Regions from separate parts of the Homo sapiens genome. Here regions 2, 3, 4, 5, 6 and 7 are each linked to region 1. The links are contacts of gene promoters, found by promoter capture Hi-C in blood cells and fetal thymus (Javierre and others, 2016). All regions are on one chromosome and are shown on one strand. The core of a region is centred on a gene start or on the middle of the fragment in contact, and the rest is flanking DNA. Distances in the headings are between cores, read along the strand shown. Region 1 holds the start of PTPRU (protein tyrosine phosphatase receptor type U). Region 2 has its middle 92 kb from the start of LINC01648. Region 3 has its middle 73 kb from the start of LINC01648. Region 4 has its middle 23 kb from the start of LINC01648. Region 5 has its middle 120 kb from the start of LINC01648. Region 6 has its middle 160 kb from the start of LINC01648. Region 7 has its middle 180 kb from the start of LINC01648.

Region 1 (3,619 bases), core at 283-2,782:
GCTAGGACCATTTCCCTTTCATTCATTCCATCCAGTCAGTATTTATTGAGCATCAATTACGTGCCAGAGGCCGGGCGCGGTGGCTCACGCCTGTAATCCCTGCACATTGGGAGACTGAGGCAGGTGGATCACCTGAGGTCAGGAGTTCCAGACCAGCCTGGCCAACATGGTGAAACCCTGTCTCTACTAAAAATACGAAAATTAGCCGGGCGTGGTGGTGGGCACCTGTAATCCCAGTTACTTGGGAGGCTGAGCCAGGAGAATTGTTGGAGCCTGGGAGGCAGAGGTTGCAATGAGCCAAGACTGCGCCATTGCACTCCAGCCTGGGCAACAAGAGTGAAACTCCATCTTGAAATAAAATAAAATAAAATAAAATAATAAAAACATGCCATATACTGGGCACGGAAATACAAGATGAGTCTTTTCCCAAGGGAGCTCATTTCTAGAGGTGGAGACAGATAATGAACTCATCATATAGCCCGCACTCTATTTGAAATTGCAACAATTCCCCTTCCCTTCCCTGTCCCCCCACCACCCCCAAATTTCCTGGTGTATGAGACAGTGATAAAGGACGTACACCAGAGGGTTTGCTTTTTTGTTTTTGTTTTTTTGGTTGTTTACTGTTCTTGTCTTCCCACTGGAATGTAAGGTCCATGAGAGTAGGGAATTTTTGTCTGTTTTATATCTCTACCCTGGCCTATAGTAATTGTTGAATAAATGAATAGACCCCAATAAATATTTGTTGAATGAATAGGTGTCCAGATGGGAGGAAGGTCTCAGCCCCTATTCAATTCAAACCAAACAACTTTGATTCAAATCTCGGTGCTGTCAAATACTGTTGCATAACAGTATTTATGCAGTATAATTATTGCATACCTAATATATGATGATTAAATGAGTCCATGTGGGTTAAACACATAGAAGGTACCTGGTCTTACATAGTAATGAGCAACGAGTTTGCAGATCATAGTGCGAGGGCTCGTTCTGGGTAGAGGCCCAAATACATTTAACCTGTGTAGCCAGAAGGTAGAGTAGGACCAGTGAGGGCTAGTGAGGGAGGTAGACTTGCACGTCATGAAATGAAAAACTTTCTAAAAGCCGGCGTTTCCAAAGCCCCAACAACCGCTCTTGGCCAGGTGATGAGCGCCCTGTTCCTGGAGGTATGTAGAACACGCATTTGAAGGCGCCAAGGTACAAGGGATTCAGGCATCGGATGGGACAGAGGCCGGGTGTCCCTGGGTCACCGTCCCTGAGAGCGCTGTACGGGAGCTAGGCGTGGGCCATGAGCGTGCTCGCCTGGCAGTGTTGGTGCCCGGTCCGTGGAGACGTCCGTGGGCGTCCAGACCCAGCCGCGGGGCCTCATGGCGGGGAGGATGCGGGAGCGGGGGAGGGGCGCGCCAGGGCTAGCGGGCGGCCGGACCCGCTGCAGCACCCGCCGTGGCCAGCAGGGAGCGCCGCGAGACCGCCGAACCCGCGGCCGGGCCTGACGTCAGCGCCCCGCTTGCTCCGGCTCGCGCTCTGGACTCGGCGCCAGTCCCGCTCCGCGCCGCGCCGCTCCGCTCCGGCTCGGGCTCCGGCTCGCCTCGGGCTGGGCTCGGGCTCCGGGGGCGGCGTCCCCCGCGCCGGGCCCCGGGACGGGCGGCGACGCTCCAACCATGGCCCGTGCCCAGGCGCTCGTGCTGGCACTCACCTTCCAGCTCTGCGCGCCGGAGACCGAGACTCCGGCAGGTAAGCGCGCGGCGGCCGGACCGAGCCTGCCCCGCCGAGCCTCGGGGCCCGTGGCGTAGCTCGGAAGAAAGTGTGAGTGTTGAGTGACCGGGCGTTACGAGCGTGCTCCCTGTGTGTGTCTGAGCGTAGGATGGGCGATTGTGTGCCCGGGGTGTTGCGTGACTGCGAATGTTGTGTGTCCGTGAGTTCTGTGCGCAAGAAAAGGTGATGTGTGTCGGCGAGTATGTTGGGGGTGAATGTTGTGTGCATCGAGGCATTGGGTGTGCGCTGAGTGTCTTGTGGGTCTGCCAGTGTGTAGTGTTTGTGTGGCCAAGTGGGTTGTGTGTGCATCTGAGTTTGGTTGTGTTGCGGGAGTTGTATCTGCTAATGTGTTGCATTTGTTTGCATTTTGTATGCCTGGCCGGGAGTGCTGTTTGTTTTGTGTCTGCGAGTGGGTTGTGTGTTTGTGTTATGCCTGTGGCCAAGGGTGCTCTCTGGATCCCGCCTGAGTGTGGATCCGGGAACGCGTGTGTGGCGTGTGTGCTTTTGAGATCCGTGTACATGTGTGAAGGCGTGGGAACGGGTCCGGAACGTGTGTGTCCGTGCGCTGTGTACGTGTGGGGAGTGTCTAGGGTATGTGGTGTGTGCTGCCGGGGGCCGCGTGGGTCCGAGTGAATGCCAAGTGTGCCGGGAATGCGTGTGTGGGAGCGAGTCTGGAACGGATGTGAGTGTGTGCGAATGTGTCCGTGTGTGCTGGCTGCGCGTCCAGGAATGTTGCGAGTGTGGAGCGCGCCTGGGCCGCGGCTGCGAGTGTGCCCTGGTCCCGGGGCCGCCCGAGGGGGCGGTGGCAGGACGTGTGTGCGCGCGTGTGCGTGTGCGCGTGTGTGGCGCGCTGGGCCGGAACAAGTTGTCGCGGCGGCGCCCCCTGGGCTGCCCGGGTCGGGCAGGGCCCGAGGCTCAGGGGAGGACCGGGCCCCGCGGCCGCCGCCTCGGGCATGTCGGACTGTTTGTTGTTTCGCAAGTTCCGCGCGGCGCTGGCGGGCGGCTGATCCGAGGCGGCGCCGGGGCTGCGGGGCGCCCGGGCCAGCGGGCCCCAGCGAGGGGCCGGCGGGCGGGCAGGGGAGGGCCGGACCGGCGGGCGCTCCTGCGGTGGCCGGGCCGCGGCTGCGCCCCGGGCGGCCGGGCGGGGGCTGTCCCCGGGCTGGGCTGCGACGTCCGGGCGCGGGCAGGGCCTGGCTCGCCGCCGGGGGACGGCGCCCCCTCCCTTGGCGCGCAGGACGCGCGGGGGACGCCCGGGCCTCCCGGGACACTCCCTTGGTGGAGCCTGCAACTTTGTGCGGCCTCCCGGCCGGCCGGGACCGCCAGGTGTGTGCTTGAGTGTGAGCGTGAGTGTGAGCGTGTGGCTCCGCGCTTGTCTGCTGTGTGGTCGCGTTCTCCGGGTGTGTTTCGGAGTCTGGTGTCTTTGGTGTGCGTGCGCGTGTGTGTGTGCGCGCAGCTGAATGTATGTATACGGAGCCTGTGTTTGTGTGTCCGTGTGCTCGTCGGAGTGTGGACGGTGTGTCGGATGTGTGTGCGTGCGCGTGTTCCACATCCCACCCTGAGGCCTGGGATCCTAGACCGCGGCCCCTTCCCGCGGAGTTTCGGGGCCCTGCTCCGGGTGACCTCCCCCGCCCTCGCCACCGGCGGGGCTGCTCCGCGGGCTCCGGGTAGCCGGGAGACGCCCGGGGCGGGATCCGAGCCGAGACACGTGCTGGAGCGGAGCCGCTTCCTCACGGTCGCCAGCCGCAGACAACTGACCTCCCCGGCATCGCGTTCGCGGCCCTGCTGCTGGCTCCGGTGTCTCGGGCCGGAACTCCTGTGGCTCCAGCGTTCGCGCCGGCCACTGGCCAGCGCTTGGGCCTCGCCCTGCAGC
Region 2 (3,619 bases), core at 778-3,277, 890 kb after region 1:
CACCTCACACCATGCTCAGCCCATGCTCCTTCTGATTCTTTAGGGACAATCACACAGGCCATTCCTGTAATGCACTGGGTCAGCCTGGCCTCCTGTGAGCTGGGCCCCAGCTCATCTGTATTCATCCTGCATGCAGCTTCTGCCTGCAAGAAGTGGCCATCAGGGTGTCCGTCCCTGAGCCTACCGAAAGGCATGGAGGTGGGAGTGGGATGACCTATGATCCCTGGAGGTTCAGGATCAAGCCCTAGAGAGCCTCTGTGTCACCCAGCTGCATCACTATGAATACTAATTGATGACAGTGGACACATATCAAATGCCTACTATGTCTCAGGTACTGTGTTAGTCTTATTCCAGGCATTTTCTCACCTAATCTTCAAATTCTTATCTATGTCTCATGACAAGAAAACTGAGACTCATGGGGGTGAAGCGACCTGCCCAAGGTGGCACAGCAAGGAAATGACTGAGCCAGAATTTGAACCAAGAGCCTACACCCTTAACCACCCTACATCACTTCCCTTCAGTGAGGGCACCCACCACGAACCCAAGTTCTGCTCCTGTGAATTTCAGGGCAGGAACCAGGTGGCTCAGATTCTGCAGTGGGGGTTCAGTGTTGGGTCAAGTTCCCCAGACTCCAGGTGATATGGTTTGGCTGTGTCCCCACCCACATCTCACCTGGAATTGTAATAATCCCCACGAGTCAAGGGCAGGGCCAGATGGAGATAATTGATTCATGGGAACGGTTTCCCCCATACTCTTCTCATGGTAGTAAGTCTCATGAGATCTGATGGTTTTGTAAATGGGAGTTCCTCTGCACAAGCTCTCTTGCCCACTGCCATGTAAGAAGTCCTTTTGCTCTTCCTTCATCTTCCACCATGATTGTGAAGCCTCCCCAGCCATGTGGAACTGTGATTCAATTAAATCTCTTTCTTTTATAAATTACCCAGTCTTGGGTATGTATTTATTAGCTGCGTGAGTACAGACTAATACACCAGGACTAACCACCACCTCAGGCCTCTCTGTTCACCGAGGCCCTTTGCCTGGTAAGCTTGCTTAAGGCTGGTGATCTTCTACCTGGTGATGTAGAAAGATGCTGGAGTGAAGAAGAGGATGTTTCCAAGAAGTCAGTAGAGCTGGTGGCTGAGGACAGCATTGGGTGCTGCGGGGGCACTGTGAGAACTACCACTTATTCACCTATGTGTGTGTGCCTTCCCCACAAGAGAGGAAGACCTGCAAAACCAATCAACTCTGGTTCAAGTGAAGTGCCCCTGGCAGAGCCGGAAAGGTGTTACAGGGTTTGTTTGTGTGGATGGAAGAGGCTGACCTGTCCCGCAGCCTGAAAACAGGAGGTGGGAGGGGGTGGGCAATGGAGCCCTCTCTCTGCATGGAGACACTTCAACGAAGATAAGGGAAAGCTTATCAGGCAGCATTCACGGTGTCAACAGCAGACAAGAAATGTTTCTAACACTTCAGCCTTGCCAACACTCCCTATTTATCTCAAGAAACACAAGTGTTTTTCTTTCTTTCTTTTTTTTGTTTCCGTTCTCTCCTGCTATAAAATGCTCAGAGTCTCACAGTGCAAGATGAAGGGTTGACACGCGGTGAAAACTCATTTTTAGATTCCATCAAGTTCCATCAGTCGCACTCCCCTTGCAGCAGAACCCAGCAGACCAGTGGGCAGAGCCAGCAGGCAGGGGGTGGAGGAGGCGGGGAGGGGTTGGGGTGGGGGACAAGCTGAAGGAGGGGGCTAGAGGGTGCGCAGTTCTGGTGAGAGGGCGCCCACTGGATGGGCTTGTTTGGGTCTTGAAGCTATGGTAAGGGTTGGGGAAGGGACATGACAAACATTTAGGGCAGAACTGCCTTTAAACCAGGTCACCAGAGGCCCCTCTGCTTTGGAGGGTCCCAACTAGGCTCTCCCCCACTGCGCCCCATTCCCTGGGGTGAGGATTCTGCAGAGCCAAACGGAGAGCCCAGCAGGACGGTGGCCCTCTTTAGACCTCATTCTGGGACCCCAGAATTTTCCCCCCCAAGTGGCCCTGCACCACCTCCAAGAGCCTGTTTCTCCCTTCTTGCCCAGATCGGGGCTGCAGAGCTGACCTAAGGGTGAACACTGTGCCCAGAGCCCGCACCCCTGGCCTGAGTGCAACCTAGGGGCGGCTATGGGCAGCTTTTGCAATGACGTGAGTCAGTAAGTCTACAGTCAAATTAACCCTCCCCACTCCCACACCCCCCAAGCAGTATCGTGACATCTCTGCTTTAGTCCCTGAAAGCAGGGGCCATGCTCCTTGGTCTGGCCCCAAGTGGGACTCCATTGAGGGATTGCCAGAGGTCACCCAGAGAGACCCAGTGGCTCTCTGAAGGGCACACAGCAATGTGATGGGCAGAACCTCTGTGTCCAAGCCTCGGTCAGCTCAGTGTGTCCAGCCTGAGCTGGGTCCACCATCAGAGAGCCTCCCGTGATTTCAGGCCTTTAGGGAGACTCATGGATGAGAACTATATGCAATTGTTCTTGAACAATATTAGCACCAGCAGTGCCCCGCCCAGCTCCATTGGCACAGAGAGCAGCTGCAGCAGGAGCTGGCTGAGGAGGGAGGCTGGCACCCCAGCAGCTCCCTGGAGTGTGGGGCTAAGGCTCCAATGCCAAGTAAGCTTCTGCAAGGCAGGCACTGCTATGGCTCTCAGAGGGCCCCCTATGCCCACAGTCTTCTCCACTTCTGGGAGCTTCAGCAGTCTCCACCTGCCCACCAGGCCTCCCCCTCCCGGGAGCTTCAGCAGTCTCCACCTGCCCACCAGGCCTCCCCCTCCCTCCTGGGATGCTGTATTAGTCTGCTCTCACATTGCTAAAAAGAACTACCTGAGACTGGGAAATTTATAAAGAAAAGAGGTTTAATTGACTCACAGTTCCACAGGATGTACAGGAGGCATGGCTGGGGAGGCCTCAGGAAATTTATGATCATGGCAGAACGCAAAGGGGAAGCAAACACATCTTACCATTGCAGGGCAGGAAAGAGAAAGAGCAAAGGGGAAATTGCCACACACTTTTAAACCACCAGATCTCATGAGAACTCACTCACTATCATGAGAACAGCAAGGGAGAAGTTCACCCCATTGATCCAGTCACCTCCCACCAGGCCCCTTCTCCAACACTGGGAATTACAATTCAACATGAGATTTGCACGGGGACACAAATCCAAACCATATCAGATGCTCTCTGCACTTGGCAGCCAGGGGCATGGGAAGATGAGACTTCACTGCCAGGTCAGGCACTTGGGCTCATCACAAAACTGAGAGCTTCAGCTTCTGGAAAGTTCTTCTTTCATTGAAATTAAGTAGCTGTTCACCATTAGTGGTGGTGGTGGCATCTTAAACCAGCACTGTTATTGAATGCCTTGCCCATTGCCCATAGGTGGGAACCATCCGTGGTTCTGCTGGGAGAGGCTCAACTGGGATGAGGAAGCCTGAAGGCTTTGGAGTCAGCTCCATCACTGAGCAGCTCGGCTTCCCTGATCAGGCCCCACATCTTTATTATGGAGCTAACAGTCCCCACCACAGGCTGGGGAGGGGAAAATATACTATCCTCTGTGTGCCCTCCAGACACACCTTCACCCCCTCCCCACTCTGT
Region 3 (3,619 bases), core at 429-2,928, 870 kb after region 1:
AGATCCTGCAAAGCTTGCCGGAGTTAATAGAGCAGCAAGTGGGAAGCTGAAGCCCCATTCATTGATGTCGACTGCACCTTCATACAAACCTCCTCCTTTATGCCACCCGAGTGCATCCTTCCCGTTTAATCAATCTGTAATGGTAATTAAATGTGGATTGATTATGAAAGGATGCATTTAGTCACAGGTAACGCACAATAACACAGGAGGTAAATCAGGGTTCTTATCAATACAATAACCTTGCAAGCATCCCGTGCAGTTCATTGCACCCTCTGCACTTGGAGCCTTACATGATATTGCCCAGCTCTTACTGATTAGTAAATCTTTACAAATTGATGGCCAGGTGAAATTAATTGGCCACAGTGAGGGGTATGTTTGACCCAGGCCACGAGTTCCACGACCCAGTTGAGACAAGGCGGGAATGGGGGAATATTCTGTAAAGGCGGCACCAGCCACCTGGACCCGCTGTGGGGTCATTGTCCCTCAAATGGCTCTCACGGGGTCTCCATCCCAGCCAGGGTCTAGGCCATCATTCTCACTCACCTGCACTGTAGCCTCAACTTCAACTCTTGCTGGCTCTAATCCACCCTCTGCCCTGGCCATGTGATGATCATTCTAGAAGGCCAGCCTCACTGAAAACCTGCCATGGCTCCCTATTTTCTAAAAATGCCTTAGCCTCGCATTCAAGACCCTCAGGATGGGGGCAGGTTTCTCTCTCCATCCCATCCCCCTCCAGGGACCACCCTTGGTTCTGGCCACACTGAGCAATGGTCCCAGCTTCCTGAACTAAGTTCTCTCAAGCCTATGGACTTTTGTACATCCTTCTCTTTTGCCCTCCCATTGTTATCCCTCTGGCCACTTCACACTCACTATTAAAACTCAAGTGGGAGCTAAGCTATAGGGAGGCAAAGGCATAAGAATGACACAATGGGCTTTGGGGACTCAGGGGGAAAGTTTGGAAAGGGGGTGAGGGATAAAAGACTACAAACTGGGTGCAGTATATACTGCTTGGGTGATGGGTACACCAAAATCTCACAAATCACCACTAAAGAACTTACTCATGTAACTAAACACCAACGTGTTCCCTAATAACCTATGGAAATAAAAAAAATTAAAAAATAGGTAAAATAAAATACTTACTTAACAACAACAACAACAACAAAACAATTTGCTTTACCTCCTCCAGGAAGTCTTCCCAGATAGACCCAGACTGTTTGTTCTGATAGGGCCTGAATTAGTTACCTATTCCTACAATAAAACTGCCTAACAAAACCCAGAGAACCTCACTGGCTAACGTCAGAACACATTTATTGCTCACTCCTCTGGGGTCAGCTGTAGGTTGGCTAGGCAGCCCTGCTGCTCTTGGTTGGATTCACTTACATGTCTGGGGGGTTCCATCATTGCTGGCTGATGTTGGCTGACCTTGGCTGATGTAGTTGAATTTGGATGGGGTGACGGGAGAAACTTGGCTCTGCTCCGTGTGCCTCTCATCCTTCAGAAGGCTGTCCAGCCATGTTCTCACAGCAGTGGTAAGATGCAAGAGCCAGCCCAAGTGCGTCACAGCAGCGTCACGTCTGCCGACATCCCATTGCCCGAAGCAAGTCATATGGGGGAACCATCTGTTTTCTGCCAAGGGACAGGACATGTTGCCCGCCCACAGCACTGCAAAGTTACACGGAAAAGGGTGGTTGCTCGAGAGGGGATGAGAAATTGGGGACCAGTGATGCACATTTTCACAGAGCAAAACGCATTTGTCTTTCAAAGCTCTCAGGACTCCACGATGTAGTAACCTTTAAAAATTTTTAACAGCTTTATTGTGTTACAACAATAAACCGTATATATTTAACATACTGATTTGATGAGTTTGACATATGTACCTACTCGTGAAATCACCATCACAGTCCAGGTAACAGACATACACATCACCCCCAGGTGAGTCCCCTGCCCCTCGGTCAGCCCCCCTCCCATCCTCCCATCACTCACCACCATGCCTGCCTCCTCTGCCCCAGACAAAAATTCATCTGCTTTCCATGACTATCAGTTAGTTTTCATTTTCTAGAATTGTATCTGCTGGAATCATACACTATGTTCTCTTACTTGTCTGGCTTCTTCCACTCCACATAATTACACTGAGATTCCTCTAGGTGATATGTATCAACATTTCCTTTCTTTTTATTACTGAAAAATGTTCATTGTATGGATGAATCACATTTTGTTCCTCCATGCACCTGTTGATGAGTATTTGGATCATTTCCAGTTTGTGGCTATAAATAAAGCTGCTATGAACATTTGTGCACAAATGTGTGCATGGACATATGTCTTCTCTCACAGGTAAACACTTTGGAGCAGAATGACCAGATCATATGGTGGCGTGTGTTCAACTTTCTAAGAAACTGCCAAGCTGTTTCCCAAGGTGGCTTTGCACTCCGCATTCCCGAAAAGAGCCCCAGCCACTCCTCATCCCTCCAGCCCCTGGTGCAGGCAGTTGCCCTTTTATCCTGGGCGGGTGAAGTGACATCCCGCTGTGGTTTTCTTTGGTCCGTCCCGATAACTAACGACGTTGAGCATCTTTTCATGTGCTTACTTCTCACCCTAGCTCTTCATTGGTGATGCGTCTGCTCAGAGGATAATCTGTCATAATTAGGGTCTTCGTTTTATTATGGTTGAGTTTTGAGGGTTATCTATGTGCTCTGGGCATATCTTTACCAGATATGTATTTGGCAAATATTTTCTCCGAGTCTGTGGCTTGCCCTGGGTGAGATTTTTTTTATTTTTAACACATTGATCAATCAATGATTGGCAAGAGCTTCACTGAGAAGGCCCGAGCTGACAGAATGAGTCAGGGTCCAAGCCATTCCCTCCACAAAAATAATCACAAAATAATAATAATAATAATAATAATAGCAAGCAGAGAGGCTTGTGAAGACTCATCAAATCCGTCCTCCTGTCGCCGGTGGCCTGGACTCTATAGAGAAGTCATCCTAAAAATCGGGATCGCCGTGGGGAGGGGAGTGGCGGGGGGAGGTGGATTAGGTCCAGAAAAGCGCACACTCCGGGACCTCGCACAGCATCATTTTGCTGATGCAAGATCGCCCTCTTATGGCCACGGTTCCTCCAGCCACTGAGCTCTGCCCCTCTCTGGGGCTCTGTGAGGCACTGGAAGACAGATAAATGGAAACATTTGTTTTGGCTCCCAAGTTTCTGATGAATACAAGTGTTTTCATTCGCTGGGCAAATATCTCAGTGGAGATGGATGAAAATAAAACTGCGACTGGGGGAGTTGATTCCCGCTTCCCTGGATGAGGCTGCTAAGGGAGGGGAGGTCAGAGGTGGGGCTGGAAGAGAAGCTTGTGTACATGCAGGGCAGAACCCCCATGTCCCCAGGGCCAAGGGCTTCCTGAGGGGCCCAGGCTTTCATGTGCACATCACGGGCCCTCAGCCCGAAACCCCTGAGACGTGGGGTTCCTGGCTGAGAATGCCTAGGAGTGGCCAGTTCTTAGCACCTGCTGCTCCTAGGTCCGGCTCTCACCTGAATCCTCCAAACTCACTGTGTCTGGCCTCCTGCAACCACTGGCCTTTCTCTGCCCCATATTACCCAAGGCTAGGAAGCCTACCAGCC
Region 4 (3,619 bases), core at 565-3,064, 820 kb after region 1:
CAGATGCTCCCCTGGACACCTGAGATTAGGGTGACAAGAGCCATGGTCGGACATGAAGTGGCCACCACTGGAGTAAAAGCAATATTTACTGAGCTACCAAATCAGCTGGGCCTTCGACTTCCAACCAAAAGAGTCCAGCCGCTTTAACCTAAGAGGAAATTTAGTTGCTTGTAGAGCTGGGTGAGTCACCAGGGAATAGCCTCAGGCACAGCTGGACTCAGGGGCTCCAATGACATCACTGGATCGCTCATACTCCTTATGTTTCTCAACATTTTGCTTCTGACTGTGTAGTAGCATCTTTCTCTTTGCCATGGGATTCATTCATGAGGCAGGAAAAGGAAAGTGGAAGGGGAATCATAACCATTAGCAGCTCCAAGCTTAGATCATCCCATCTAGTGATTCCATAGGAAAGAGAGAATTGCTTGTTGTTATAGCCATATACATGGTCCCAGTCAAGGATTCTAATAGGCTGATTTTGGTCACATGCTCTACTTGGACCAACCACTATTTCCTGGGGGAATGGATTGCTGTGATTGGTTTAGTCTATGCCGATACCTCTCTCTAAGAAGAGAGGTGGGATAGAGTCACTGACTGATAATTTGGTCAGAATATCAGGGCCTGGGGGGTGCAGGAAGCTTACCTTCCCAAAGCAAGGGTGACAGGAGTGATAGGTGCCAAAAACAGAGGGAGAAAGAGATGCCGGATAAACCAAAACAGCCCAAGTGCAAATTGCAGTACATATTATGATTTCGTTTTATAAATAAAGAAACTGAGTCTCAGAGAAGCTAAGAAAAGGACATAAATTAGCAAGTGGCACAATAGACCCTTGAACCCTTCTCTGCTGGACAAAAGTGCCCCATGTTTTAGCCCATGGACGGCGGTACTTCCAGGAATACCGGCCTCTGCAGGCATCTCAGCACCTCCTGAGTTCCAGCGGGTTTCAACGCATAATTCCAGCCCAAATAGGAAGATTCTCCAAGCTCAGACATTCAAGTCCTTCACAGGCCCCTGGCTTACAAACCTAATCTTCATGATGGATGTAATTTAAGGCCCCTTTCCTTCTGGATTACAGAGTGCAGGAAAATGATGCTCCTGGCAATTTCTTGTCAACTGAGCCACCCTGGGAGTGAGCGCATCAAAGGGAACAGAGACCATGTCAGTGCTGCCAGGGGCAACCTGGAGGTGCAAGGAACATTAAGATGGCTGAAGTGTGATCTGTTTGACATGTGAGCGTGTTCTCCAGTGAAGCACACAGCTCAGAGCACTCAGACTCAGCCACAACCTCGGCACGCCTTCCCTTCTCCCTGGGCTCCTTTTCAGCAATCAGACCCTCCTATTCCTCCTGCCAGACCCAACCTGTCCATTTCATTTAAGGAGTGATTCACAGCATACAGCTCAACAGGGCTAAAGGGACCTTGTGGAGCCTCTGTTCCAACCTCATTCATTTTACAGATGAGAAAACAGAGCCCAGAGAGACTCAGACACTTGTTCAAGGTCAGAGAGTAAGTCAAGGATGAGGCTGAACCAGGGAACATCAGGACCCCTACAGGGAGGGCGTCTCATGTCCAGGTCCTGGCACGGACACTTTTACATGCATATTTAATCCTCACAACGACCCTGTGCCGTGGGTGTTATTATCCCCCCTTAGCCTTGGGTAAAAGAAAGCTCTGAAAAATTAAATGCCATGCTCAAGGTCACAGAGCTGAGTTTCAAACTGCTTTGATTAGCACAAAAGTCCAAGTGCTGAAGCACTGTGCAGGTCATTTGTCCACTGGCCGTTTGCTCTCTGTGCCATTAACACTATTGTGTGATGCTGGATCCTGGCTGGCTGCATCTCCTAGACTCCCATGCCTGCTGGCTTCCAGTTAGCACCGACAATGGAAAGTGCTAGTGAAGACGAAAAGATGGGAGCTGGGGAGAAGCTGCTTCTGAAAGAGGTTCTGGCTGCACCAGGTAGCTACCAGCTCAACGGCCCTTTGGTGACTCTGGCAATAGCTGCAGTGGCCAGCTGCAGCTACCCAGGGTGTGGGTGGCTCTGGCAGCAGTGGGCCTAGTGATGGATTACATCAGCAGGACACGCAGTCTTGAGCTCTGCAGCACCACCTCCTCTGGTTTGTGCCTCCAGGACTAGGGCTCCTATCTTTTCTTTTCTTTACTGTTTTTTTTTTTTTTTTTTTTTTTTTTTGAGATGGAGTTTTGCTCTTGTTGCCAAGGCTGGAGTGCAGTGGCGTGATCTCGGCTCACTGCAATCTCTGCCTCCTGGGCTCAAATGATTCTCCTGCCTCAGCCTCCTGAGTAGCTGGGATTACAGGCGCCTGCCACCACGCCCAGCTAATTTTTGTATTTTTAATAGAGATAAGGTTTCGCCATGTTGGCCAGGCTGGTCTCGAACTCCTGACCTGAAGTGATCTGTCTGCCCCAGCCTCCCAAAGTGCTGGGATTACAGGTGTGCGCCACCACGCCGGGCCTTCCTATCTTTTTCTTTTTGCCCTTTCAGCCTGTTCACCACTTTCATAATCAGCTCCCTGCATTCACTCCCCTCTGTTTACAATTTCTAGCGTACTTCCTGTTTTTTCTAAATGAACCCTGAATGATATAGCACTTGGTATCAGCTGTGCTACCAGGAAACAAACCTTCAATAATGGGATTTGGGGGTGGGCTGTTTGACTTGATTAGGCTTAAACACAGTGAGAACCTCATGGCCAGGGACAGTGAGATTGTAGTATGCCTTGGTGTGCAGGGACATTAAATCACTTAAATCATCACTTACGGTTGCCTGGGACAAAGTGCCTATTGAACACTGAGAATCGTCAGCCCAAGTGGCTGCGGCACTTGGCCTCTGAGGTAGTAATCATGACTATCAGAAGGAATGAGGAGTACAATGGCTACTTATGACAGTACTGGAGAGTTTGTAGAAAGAAAATGACAAGCACTGTGTTTCAAATCTCTGCTCAGAGCACGGATAGATAACCAGTGATTAGATTGCCCTCAAGGAAGCTTTTGTGTTTTCTAGCTATAGGGCAGACACAAATGAAAATCACATCTAAAATGTCATCCTGTGGGTTGTAGAATTGCATCATACGTTGGACTCACAAGCTTACTGTCTGTTCCTTGAAAGTGAAGGCGTTGATTGGGAAGCAGAGGGCCTCCAAGAATGAGGTGTGTGCCGTGTGTGTGCTGCCCCAGTGCATTTTGTAAATGACTTGTAAAACTGAGCAAGTCTTAGAGCCAGGAAAGGCCCTGCAGCAATGCTGATCTCCAGGCCAGTGCCCTGACACCTGGGCCTATAACCCAGCCTGTCTAGTGGAACCCAAGTCTCTGTACAAGTAGGGATCTTGTATGGGGCCAGCAGCAAGCCCCAGTAGGAGACTCAAGCCCCAGCAAGAGACACCAGCAGCACAGTTGCCCCAGTTTTTTGGTGCAAAGCCCTATCCTCTTCTGTAGATAACTATTCTGCATTTGAGAAATAGCTCTTGGCTTTCTACTGAGCCCTGGTGTAACCAAGTGGCTTCCTTTTTTCTAAGAAAAAGGAAATGAGTTACTATTATTTTTCCATGATTTTCTCTTCTTTTCTCCTCTCCCCTTTCCCTAGTCCCTGTTTTCTACTTAGCCCTTCAGA
Region 5 (3,619 bases), core at 577-3,076, 680 kb after region 1:
GACCCTTAAATATTAGGGCGAAGTTTTTAGAGCTGCTAATATCATCTTTAGTATTCTGATGATATTATAACTGAGGGCTTTATTTCCTCATCTATAAATGGGAGAAAGAAAGAAGGGAGTCAGCACCCATCGAGGATCTATTCTGTGCAAAACCCCATGCTCCACACATTATACACATTTGCCCTTTAACCCCCTGCAAAATGCTACGATCTTAGGACTATTATCCCAATTTTCTGAAGCACTGACTGAGCTGGAATTCAAATGCAGGACTTCTGGACCCTGATCCCATGACAGACACAGCTTTGAGGTTCTGGAGGACCTAACACTGCGGGCTCCTGCTTCCTGCCTAGTGAGCAGAGTGGTAAAGAGCGTGCTGGCTGGAGTCCATCAGGCCAGGACCTAGGCACTCACCAGAGGAGGGCGTGGCTTATCTATGCCTCAGTATCCTCATCTGCCCAGTAGGGCTGCTGTGACAGCATCCACCACATGTGGTCATTTGAGGACGCTTTTCCTGATTAGGTTCAGGAAAAGCCTTTTTACTTCACCTCCACTGGAGATCTCCAAAGCTCTGCCTTGCTGGGGGAATTGGGAGCCCATCATCATTATTCCTTGTTACCTAGGAAGCCAAACTGCCTTTGATGTTTTATTGGCCTGACATTTTCCTTCAAAGGGTCTCTATTCACTGCTGTGAGAGTTGCTGGCTTCTACCAATTTGATGAGATGGGCATCTATCACCTCCCAAGGGGAAGTCTGACTCTAAAGGCTCTAAAATAAAAGGGGAAAAGGTTTGATTTCACTGGGGCTGGTCTTGGAGGGACTGGTCTTGGGGGCTGCTCCTGAAGTCTGTATGTAAATTCCCAGCAGAAGCAGTGGGAGGTCTGGGCTCTGCAGCCACATCTGGTGGGTGACGAAAGCTGGATGGGGAGGCTGTTCCTAGGAAGACTAATCCCGGTGCTTGGCTGTGTGTTTCTATGTGACACCACACAAGGAAGCCTAGGTTACTATGGCCCTGATCTCCCCCACCAGCTCTGGTCTCTGTGATCTGCCCCCAGCTTCCTCCCAGGATTTCATGAAACCTCAAATCTATTTGTGCAACCTCAATTCAAACAAGTCTATTAACTTTCACCCAGTGAAAGTCATTAGTTGTTGCTGGCTTTGCTGGCTCACAGCATTTTCAAGCCGGAAAAGATCTTGGATGTTTTAGGACCCTACCTCCTTCAAAGACTAAATGGCTCCTTCACTGCTTCAAGACTTCTAAAGGGCCCCCTGGCATTTAGATGGAGTCCGATCCCCTTAGCATGGCATTTGATTACTTGCTGATCCAAGGGCACACCCAGCCTTGCCTCTGTCCTGGCTCCGCCTCTGCCCTGCATGGCTCCTCACCTCTGGCTATGATAGAAATTGTCTCAGTATATTAGGCACCTCCTCAGGTCTGGGCGTTTGTACCTGTGTCTTCTCTGTCTGGAATACTCTTCCTCTCTCCCACCTGGTGAAATTTTCGGCACCCACCAGAGACTAGCTCAGGTGTCACCTCCTGCTTGAAGCTTTCCCTGATCCTACCAGGAGGAAGTAGCTGCTCTGCCTTCCATGCCGTAGACACCTCTGCCAGAATAGTGACTCCTGGTGCTTCGTTGGCTGCTTGTCTTCGTCAGCGTAGACAGCCAGAACAAAATCCCATAGCAGAACAAAATCCCACAGCCTGTGTGGTTTAAACCACAGAAACTTATTTTCTCACAGTTCTGGAAGCTGGAAGTCCAAGATCAAGGTGCCAGCAGGATCAGTGTGTGGTGAGGGCTATCTGCTTGGGTTGCAGACACCTGCCTATTTGCTATGTCCTCACAAGGCCTTTCCCAGGTGTCTACACGTGTAGACAGAGGGGGAGATCTCACTCTTTTCTCCTCCTATAAGGCCACCAATCCAATAGGGATTAGGGCCCTGCCCTTGTGACCTCATTTCACCCTAATTACCTCCTAAAAGCCCTAACTCCAAATACAGTCACACTGGGGGTTAGGACTTCAATACATGAATTTTGGGAGGACACAATTTAGCCCACAGAAATAGCGCGCCCTTTAAATTGGGGGCTGCTTTTTAGTTTTGTGTTCCTAGGAGAAGCTTCTATCCTAGGACAAGTAGAAGAGCCCAGCACAGGGAAGCATTGAGTAACCAAGTCATCAGACAACTGAGCTGAGTACAGAACAACAGACTGAAGACTTTTGAAGACAGAAACTTCTATGAAAAGGAAGCTTTTCAGTTTCTAGAAACAGAAAACAAAACACAAACTCCCCAAAACAATAGAGGGAGTTTACTGACCAACGGAACTAAAAAGTTCCAGATGTGGGCTTCAGGAGTGGTTTGATCAGGGTGTCAGGTTCACTTCTTGATAGTTTTCTCTACTATACCCACCTTCATGTATTGATTTTGGTCTCAGGCTGGCTTTATTCATGGTGATAAAGTGGCTGCATTAAGTTTCAGTTCAAGATCCTTATCCCAACCATTCAGAAAGACAGAGACATCTACGTCACAGAATTCTCAGCAAAAATCCTAGAGTTTGTACTGATTGAACCAGTTACTGTGGCAAGAGGAATGTGATTCCCTGAGTATCTTAGACAAATCATGTCCCACCTAGTTTTTTGGATGGTCACTCTCAATGAATTCTCAAGGCTGTACATAATGGAGTACTGAAAAACATGAATTTTAGTATTCTTCTCTCCCTCCCTTCCTTCCTTTCCTTCCCTTCCTTCCCTTCTTTCCTCCCTCTCCTCCCCTCCACTTCCCCTTCCCCTTCCTTCCTTCCTTCTCCTTTTCCCTTCCCCTTCCTTCTTCCTCCCCTTCCGCTTCCCCTTCCCCCTCCCCTTCCTCTCCCCTTCCCTCCCCTTCCCCTTCCTTTCTTCCTTCTCCCTTTCCCTTCTCCTTCCTTCTTTCTCCCCTTCCCCTTCCCCTTCCCCCTCCCCTCCCCTCCCCTTCCCTTCCTTCTTTCCTCTCTTCCTTTCACAAATTATATACAGTTATTATTATTATTATAATTTTTGAGACAGAGTCTTGCTCTGTCACCCAGGCTGGAGTGCAGTGGTGCGATCTCAGCTCACTGCAAGCTGTGCCTCCCAGGTTCACGCCGTTCTCCTGCCTCAGCCTCCCGAGTAGCCAGGACTACAGGCGCCTGCCACCACGCCTGGCTAATTTTTTGTATTTTTAGTAGCAGACGAGGTTTCACCGTGTTAACCAGGATGGTCTTGATCTCCTGACCTCGTGATCCGCCTCAGACTCCCAAAGTGCTGGGATTACAGGCGTGAGCCACCTCGCCCAGCCTGTATACAGTTATTATAAGTCAGACTCTGTACTAGGTGTTGAGTGCATATATGAGATTAGGACAAGATTGCAATCTCAAGCTGTTGAGAATCCTACTTAAAAGGATTTTGAAAATTATCCAGAAGGCAATGAGGAACCATAATGGGATTGTAAGAAGGTGAATGACTATGTTAATTATCTATTGCCGCGTAACACACAACCTCAGAATTTAACATCTTAAAACAACAAACATTATCTCACAGTCTCTGTGGTGCAGGGATCTGGGCAGAGCTTACCTGGGTGCCTGAAGCTCCAGGTCTCTCACGTGGCTGCA
Region 6 (3,619 bases), core at 287-2,786, 640 kb after region 1:
GCGGACTCACTGCAGCTATGGCTGGTTAACCGGCTGCTGGTGTTGCAGGCCATGTTCTCACCTGCCTGTGTGCATCTTGTATGAGGGACCACACCCCGTCCTCTCCCCACTGTTTCTAGCAGAGGGGCTGGTGCATAGTAGGAGTTTAAAAAATGCAGGAGAGTGGAAGAATACATATATGAGAGGAAGTTTCTGAGCATCAGTGCACAAAGCCCATTATTTATGTCCACAGTGGGGAAGGTGTGGCCGGCCACCTGTTCCATTTGTTCATTCATTTGCAAGCTTCTCTTGAGTGCCTGTTGTAAGTCCAGCTCTGCGGGCAAGTGTCTGGAGAGACCAAGCATAGGAAAACAAGAGTTCTGCCTTCATGAAGGCAGAAAGAAAGTCAGGACACTGAAGAAGTAATGATGGCAAAATGTAAAGTTGTCCACAGAGGGGCTGTCCAAGGAGCTCTGAAACATAACAGAAGAATTAAGTTGCATTATGAAAGGTCTCTCAAAAAAGTGATGTTTAAGCTGAGATTGAGAGAATAAGCCTAAAAGGTTCTGGCAGATGTAAATTTAGCACAAATCACAGTATTATGCACCAATAAGCCCTTAGGCTAAATTAATGAAGAGCTGATATCTAGAATGTAGGGGGTGAGAGGCTGTCTCTCTCTATTCTGGGCTGCTCAGAGGTTGCCTGAAATGTTGAATTCACAAGAGAGAGGCTCTTACTGTCCTCCCGCTTTTATGAACAAGGGCACTGAGGCTCAGAGAGGTGAAGTAACTGATAGAGGGTCACTCAGCCAGTGAGTGGCAAAGCCCAAGCTGTGGAAGGCATGGTCTTTTACTTTAAAGGCACAATCCAGAGGTTGCACATGTGTGCATCCATGTACACAAAGACACACACATGTACACACACACACACACACACACACACACGCAACTTCTGCTCCAGCATCATTGGCAGAACTGGGCCATGTGAAAGGAAAAAAAATCTCGGGACCCCAAAATCACTAAGCCAAAGGGAAAAAATCAAGCTGGGAACTGTGCAGGTGCAAACCTGTGTCCCATTTTATTCTGTTGCATTTCACCCTGACAATGTAAATTGATAGCTCATCTTCACAGGTGCAGGATAAAGAACAGAACTCTAAGTCATCCCTCTGCTCACCTGAGACAAACGCATATCTGATTGCTCCCTCTGATGGAAAAATGCAGATTCACTGAGCAGACAAAGGCATAAGTGACTATTCCTCTACCCACCTCCCATGTAAATTGTGTATTCAGTTAAAGGTTGATCAGACTCAAAAGAATGCAACCATTTGTGTCTTATCTACCAACAACTTTTATTTATTTTTTATTTTAGTTTTTTGAGATGGGGTCTTACTCTGTTGCCCAGGCTGGAGTACAGTGGTATTGTCTTAGCTCATTGCAGCCTCCACTTCCTGGGTTCAAGTGATTCTTCTGCCTCAACCTCCCAGGTAGCTAAGATTACAGGTGCCCACAACCGCACCTGGCTAATTTTTGTATTTTTAATAGAGACAGATTTTCATCATGTTGGCCAGGCTGGTCTCAAACTCCTGACCTTAAGTGATCCACCCACCTTGGCCTCCCAAAGTGCTGGAATTACAGGCGTGAGCCACTGTGCCCGGCTTACCAACACCTTTTAAAAAATTTTCCTCTTTCTGCAATATTCACCCTTTCCCCTTTAAATATTGAAGCCCTCAAAATCATCGTTGGACAAAGGCACAGACTTGCCTTTTGGGCAGGCATCCTTAACCTTGGCAAAACAAAAGTCTAAATTGATTGGGACCTGTCTCAGATGCTTTTTGGTTTATGGCCACATGACCACATCTTGTTGCAGGGGATGCTGGGAAATTGTAGTATTAGTAATTGTTCTGGGCAGTCATATAAACACTTGAACCAAAGGTTCTATTAGCAAAAGAAATGTAGAAGAATGTGTTGGGAGGTGACTGGTGGACTCTGCGCAGTGCCAAATATGCATTGGAGGAATGCTTCTGTGGACTGGGGTGGGCTGGCAGTGGGAGGGAGGAGATGGGTTCATTCTGACATCTCCATCTTCCCGCCCCCTCAGAGACTCTTTTGTGCTTTCTTGATCTTGACACTCATGTGTCGTTCTTTGCTTGCCTTAATTTGGATTTCCCAAACTGCCCTCTAAGCACATTGCAGCTCTGGGATTCCCCGAGCTGGTGAGACTACCAGAAAGCAAGTTAACGAAGGTGGCACATTCCCCCAATGCAGCCTTATCCGTTTCCAGTGACCACTGTTGAAACTCATGGTGCATTCATGAATTCGCCCATCTTTACTGGGTACCCGCTCTGTGCTGACACTGTGCCAAGCGCTGGGGATACAACAGTGAGTAAAAACAGATGTGATTCTTTCCTCCCAAAGACTAGACTACAATGGAAGAGAGGCATTCTACCACAACAAATTCATACAAACATATGTGAAACTGCATCTTAGTGCAGAGGTGGTAGGGAGGTTTGAGAAGGCTTCACCAAAAAGATGATATTTAAGTTGATTACTGAAAGATAAACAGGAGTTTTCCAGGTGAAAAGGGAGAGGGGAGAGCGATCCAGGTGTAGGGAACTGTGTGTACAAAGGCCCTGGGGTGGGAGGTCAGCATGATCAGGAGGCACCTGTGGGTGGATAGGATGACAGGTGAGCAGTGGAGTAAGGTGAGCCTGGGGCAGAGGCTGTGACCAGGATGGGAAGGGCCTTGTAGGCCAGGCTGAAAGTTCCACATCTCCAGTAAGGGCCCAGGATTATATTAAGAGATCTGAGTAGGGAAGCTTGGTTTCCACAGTCAGACAGGTCTCCTTGGATTCTCCTCCAAATGTAGACAGAGCCAAGACCCCCATTGAAAAGATGCCTGTGTCCCATGTGGCTTTGGCTTCTGGGCCATCTTTTCTCTGAATGCTTGACTTAGGGAGGCTGTGGCAGATTCAGAGCATCCTGTGGGGTATGGAGAAGAAACCAGAGCAGGGCAGGAGTTGCATTAGAGATTTCACATCTACCCCTCTGCATGGAGACCTGGAACACCTATGGGCTTCACTGTCAAAGGCTTGCTATGGGCACCTACTGAATACTTTCAGGAGATGGAACACAGTCCCCATTAGCCCTTGCTGACCTCACTCTTGTCTAAGAACCAAATGTAAAACCTTCTCTGGATTAAACTTAGCCCTCTGAACCTTGACTTCAAAAATAAGAAAGATCAATTCTTTGAGGACATAGAGTCAGAAGTGTTTTCTCCATTGGGCATCTGCTGCTCCCCACCCCTTCCAGCTTCTGGGTAAGTCTCGGGGGAAGGGTTCTTCCAGGGCAGAACAAAACACTCAGCACCCCTCACTTTCTCCCTCACATTCTTTAGTGGGGCAGAGGGAAGTTGCAGCTGGTTGAGGGGCTGCACATAACCTCAGTCCACCTCATCTGTACCATGACCTAGTTTATAGGTCCAGGGGTGAAATGAACACTGCAACCCACCATGCTTGGCTGGAAAGATCAGCAGAGGTAGGGACCAGGACCCTAGACTGGGACACTATAGATCAAAAGCTTTATCTGCTGAGCAGGGTGTCAGAACAGCCAGGAGCTGGTGGCTGAGGCCACTGGGGTTGGCA
Region 7 (3,619 bases), core at 759-3,258, 620 kb after region 1:
TCCCTGCGGACCAGGAGGGCGAGGTAAGGGACGCCACGCGGCTGAGCTTGTTCTTTCTACAGTGCCTTGGTTCACCAGGGAAATGTTACAAGCTAGATTATGTCTTCTGCTATGTGATGTGACATTTCCTGCTCTGTCCCTACCTTGGTTCTGTCTGAGTCATTCTCTTTCCCCCTGGGGAGTGATGGCTTTGCCTGGGAAGGGAGGTAGGGAGGGGCCCCACCCTCTGCCTCCTCCCTCCTGGGCCCCATCTGCTGAGGAATGAGCTCCAGAGGAGACATGGGGCAAAAGGGGGCCCAGGGATCCCAATTCCCCCTACCCAAACAAAATGTGTCAGGGTAGAGATAGATCACCAGAGACGAGAGAACTGAGAGGAAGCCCCTGCCCACCCATTCCTCGCACAAGGGGTCTGAGGAGGGGGCTCTGTTTCTCTAGATGCTCAGTTGCCAAGTGTTTGCCAAGGGCCAGCCTGTGCCCAGCTCTGAGCCAGGGCTGCAGATTTATGAAGAGCCAGAGCTCAGGAGACAAGGTTGGGGCACCCACAGCATCTGCTGCAATCTCTAGGAACATGGTTATGGACGGAGCATAACCATGGGCAGTGGGGGAGCCTCCACCCTTCAGCACCTCCTGCCTGGTGGCCAAGCCCCTCCTAGGTCTATAGCACACCCCACCATCTCCGCCTCTGAGCCCCAGGGCTGTTATTTCCTTAATGTGCCTGCTTTAATTATTATCTTCAAGGAGAGACTCAATCCGGAGATAAACACAAAAGACCTGCTGCTGACAGTGGAAGGCTCCTGCCTCCCTGGATGCAAACGGAGGGCCCGCTGCAGCCCAAGCATAACTTGGGCCTTAGAACCAGCAAACTCAGCTAAGTGCTGATACAGTGCAGTCCCGTGGAGACAAAAGTGTCCTCACACTGCTGCCAGGCCCTGCGTGTAGCTCTGGCACCCCCATGGCTGGGGAGTGGGCTGGGCTGGGCTTGGCTTTGCACTGTCCTGCCCATTGGCCCTCTGCTCTCTGCTCAGCTTTCCAGGCTCGGCTGCTGCTGTTGGTGGAATTGGGCATTTTATGTGCTTTGATAAGGCATCCCGGGCAGAGCTCTGGGAGGCTTGGCCTGGCTGTTCCTGCCTCTCTGGGGGAGCTCTGAGGAGGAGCTGGCTTTGAAGCAGCATGAGAAGCCTGCTAGTAAGATTTAACAGGCACGACCAGAATCCCAATACCACATCCCAGCAGGCACTAAGCAGGCCACAGATGTGTCACGGGCCCAGGTCAGCCACAATCTCAAGGGCTGTCATAAACTAAAGGCGCAGGGCTTGCTCAGCTGTGGAGGCCTGGGGTTGGGTTCCAAGAAAATACAGAGGCTTTGGAAATAACAGCCACTCTCACAGTCTGGACATGAGGGAACAGAGCAGGCTGGGCCCTGACAGGGTTTCCTGAACCCAAAGGAGAGCAGGCCATGGCCAGGGTCCAAGCTCTGTCACCTAAGAGCTCAGCTCTGCAACCACTGAGACCTGGCTTGCAATCCCAGCTCTTCCACCTCCTACCTGAAGGATCTTGGGAAAATGACCTGGCCTCTCTGAGACCCAGTTTCCGCAGCTGTATGATGGCTTCTGGGTACCTCCTATTTCAAGTTTATTTTCTCCATGTGAGGGCAGAGGTGAGGAAGCTCATGCCCTCATGGCATGGACTCTGGCTTCCCACGGGCATGGAGGACCCCCAAGCCCTGGACTGGGTGTCAGGAGGCCTTGGCTGGGGCACCTGCCCTGCCTGTGTCTGCTGTGTGGCACTAGACCTGAGGCACGGAACCCCTTGCCTGCTGCCCCCACAGACTTTTGAAGGGAAAAGGCCTGGCTCAGGGACGGAGGAGAATCGTGGCATCCTGGAGCTGGGGGAGACTTGAGGGCAATCCAGGCCCACCCACATCTCACAGGAGAGGAATCATCCAACACTCTCCCATCCTTAGGTGGTCCCCAGTCCCAGGGGTAACTAAGGGGCTGGGCAGGTTGGTCCAACCTGGTTCCCCCTGGCCGTTGAGACCCTCTGCTCCCTGCAACTGCTGCGACTCATCCTCTTCGCCTGCAGAGGCAGCTGGTGCTCTGTGAGGAAGACATTTTCTGGTACCAGAAAACTGTGGGAAAAAGCAGGAATCCTCCAGGGATGTTCCCCACATTGAATTATGCATGAAACAACCCAGCTTCCAGGTTTGCTGAGCTCACCCACCTTACTGCCCTGACCCTCTCCAGTCTCCACCACAATGAGATGACTTTTCCAATCAGCTTCGGCCCCTCTTGGGGTCACCTGAGTCAGATTGGCCGCTGCAGACATGGAAAGGGCCCTGCCAGGCTCCCCTGGCTGAACCGAGTGTTTCATGATCCTGGAGCACCAGAGGTAGTGGATGAGCCTTTGTCAACAGCTCACAGGGAATCTGGACAAGCAGGGTCCACCGGGAGAGATCCGAGCCCTGCTCGCTATCTTGGCCAGCAAGGCGAGGGCACAGCAGCAAGAAGGCAGGTGAACAGAACATTTATGCTCATCTTATGCTGGGTGCTGGCAACTGAGCAGCAAAAAGGCCATGTTGTAAACCAAAAAAAGCAACTGAGGCGCATCTCAATTTACATGTGTATTTTGCCAAGGTTGAGGGTGTGCTGGGGAAAATGAGACTCAAGCCACAGTAGGATCTGTGGTCTGAACTTTTTCCAAAGGGGATTTTAAGGGCTTCGATATTTAAGGGGAAAAAGCAAGCAGGAGGAGAAAGGAGGAAAGAACGAAAAAGAGGGACAGTGTGGTCACGTTCTTGCAGGGCCCTGATGAGCACTCACCAAATCCACACATTGCATGTGAAAAGGACAGGGTAGAGGAACAGTCCATTACGTATTTGTCTCTTGCTCAGAAAATCTGCACTTTCTATAAAATAAACATAGAATGGAGAAAGAAATCAAATATGTGTTCGTCTTGGGGTGGGTGGTGGCATGATTCCTAGTCTCCTCTTGGCTCACACCCATGAAAATAAGCTGTTATCATCATCAGGGAGAGGAAGGCCACCCGGGGAGACAAGTGGACTTCTATCTTGTAGCTATCTGTTTAGGAACACAGGAAACAGCCGTTTTTGCGTGACTCAGCTTCCAAGTTTAGCTTTTCCCTTTGGCATAGTGAGTTTGGGGTTCCGAGATTCTATTTTCCTTTCACAGTGTCCTTGTCTGGCTTCCAAAGAATTGAACTTAGTTCTCTGGTATTTTAAGGGGAAACATGAGTTCTAAAAGTATTATTTCTTATTTATAGGTGAGGAAACTGGGATTCACAGAGGTTGGGTAACCTGACTTAAGCCTGACATCTAGTAAGTGGCAGAGTGGGATGCAGAGCAAAGTGGGCTGTCTCCCGAGCTTATGCACCTCCCACTGTGAGATGCTGCCCAGGTCCCTGCACCTGCAGGATTAGGGAGATGTGCCTGTGAGGCACTGCCCGGGCCCCAGCACCTGCAAGACAGGGAGATGTACCTGTGAGACCCTGCCCAGGCCCCAGGACCTGCGCGATAGTGAGATGTACCTGTGAGGCACTGCCCGGGTCCCAGGACCTGCGTGATAGTGAGATGTACCTGGGAGGCACTGCCCGGGTCCCAGGA

Evidence for each region. The method cuts DNA at HindIII sites, captures the fragments that hold promoters and counts their contacts. A CHiCAGO score of 5 or more calls a contact.
Region 2: a contact is called between a fragment that was not itself captured here and the fragment with the promoter of PTPRU in region 1, in 2 of 17 cell types (erythroblasts and M2 macrophages). The highest score is 7.1, in erythroblasts.
Region 3: a fragment that was not itself captured here is called in contact with the fragment with the promoter of PTPRU in region 1 in 6 of 17 cell types (endothelial precursors, megakaryocytes, erythroblasts and 3 more); the score reaches 10.4 in endothelial precursors.
Region 4: a contact is called between a fragment that was not itself captured here and the fragment with the promoter of PTPRU in region 1, in 1 of 17 cell types (M1 macrophages). The highest score is 5.9, in M1 macrophages.
Region 5: a fragment that was not itself captured here is called in contact with the fragment with the promoter of PTPRU in region 1 in 1 of 17 cell types (M2 macrophages); the score reaches 6.2 in M2 macrophages.
Region 6: a fragment that was not itself captured here is called in contact with the fragment with the promoter of PTPRU in region 1 in 1 of 17 cell types (endothelial precursors); the score reaches 5.6 in endothelial precursors.
Region 7: a fragment that was not itself captured here is called in contact with the fragment with the promoter of PTPRU in region 1 in 7 of 17 cell types (total CD4 T cells, M0 macrophages, M2 macrophages and 4 more); the score reaches 7.7 in total CD4 T cells.

Annotation. Positions count from the first base shown.
Region 1 is chr1:29,234,990-29,238,608 of GRCh38, forward strand. PTPRU (protein tyrosine phosphatase receptor type U) reads left to right here and starts at 1,533. Exons shown (of 30, transcript NM_133178.4): 1 at 1,533-1,728. The coding sequence starts at 1,656. RefSeq lists a silencer at 1,336-1,655. The HindIII fragment of the contact is 8,758 bases long and covers 1-3,619 here.
Region 2 is chr1:30,127,717-30,131,335 of GRCh38, forward strand. No RefSeq gene overlaps it. Among named protein-coding and RNA genes, the nearest start is that of LINC01648, 92 kb to the left of the region's middle. The HindIII fragment of the contact is 1,234 bases long and covers 1,411-2,644 here.
Region 3 is chr1:30,108,554-30,112,172 of GRCh38, forward strand. No RefSeq gene overlaps it. Among named protein-coding and RNA genes, the nearest start is that of LINC01648, 73 kb to the left of the region's middle. The HindIII fragment of the contact is 3,334 bases long and covers 12-3,345 here.
Region 4 is chr1:30,058,947-30,062,565 of GRCh38, forward strand. No RefSeq gene overlaps it. Among named protein-coding and RNA genes, the nearest start is that of LINC01648, 23 kb to the left of the region's middle. The HindIII fragment of the contact is 2,362 bases long and covers 634-2,995 here.
Region 5 is chr1:29,914,488-29,918,106 of GRCh38, forward strand. No RefSeq gene overlaps it. Among named protein-coding and RNA genes, the nearest start is that of LINC01648, 120 kb to the right of the region's middle. The HindIII fragment of the contact is 568 bases long and covers 1,543-2,110 here.
Region 6 is chr1:29,879,574-29,883,192 of GRCh38, forward strand. No RefSeq gene overlaps it. Among named protein-coding and RNA genes, the nearest start is that of LINC01648, 160 kb to the right of the region's middle. The HindIII fragment of the contact is 2,512 bases long and covers 281-2,792 here.
Region 7 is chr1:29,855,807-29,859,425 of GRCh38, forward strand. No RefSeq gene overlaps it. Among named protein-coding and RNA genes, the nearest start is that of LINC01648, 180 kb to the right of the region's middle. RefSeq lists enhancers at 1-569, 570-1,241, 2,362-2,861 and a silencer at 83-283. The HindIII fragment of the contact is 4,704 bases long and covers 1-3,619 here.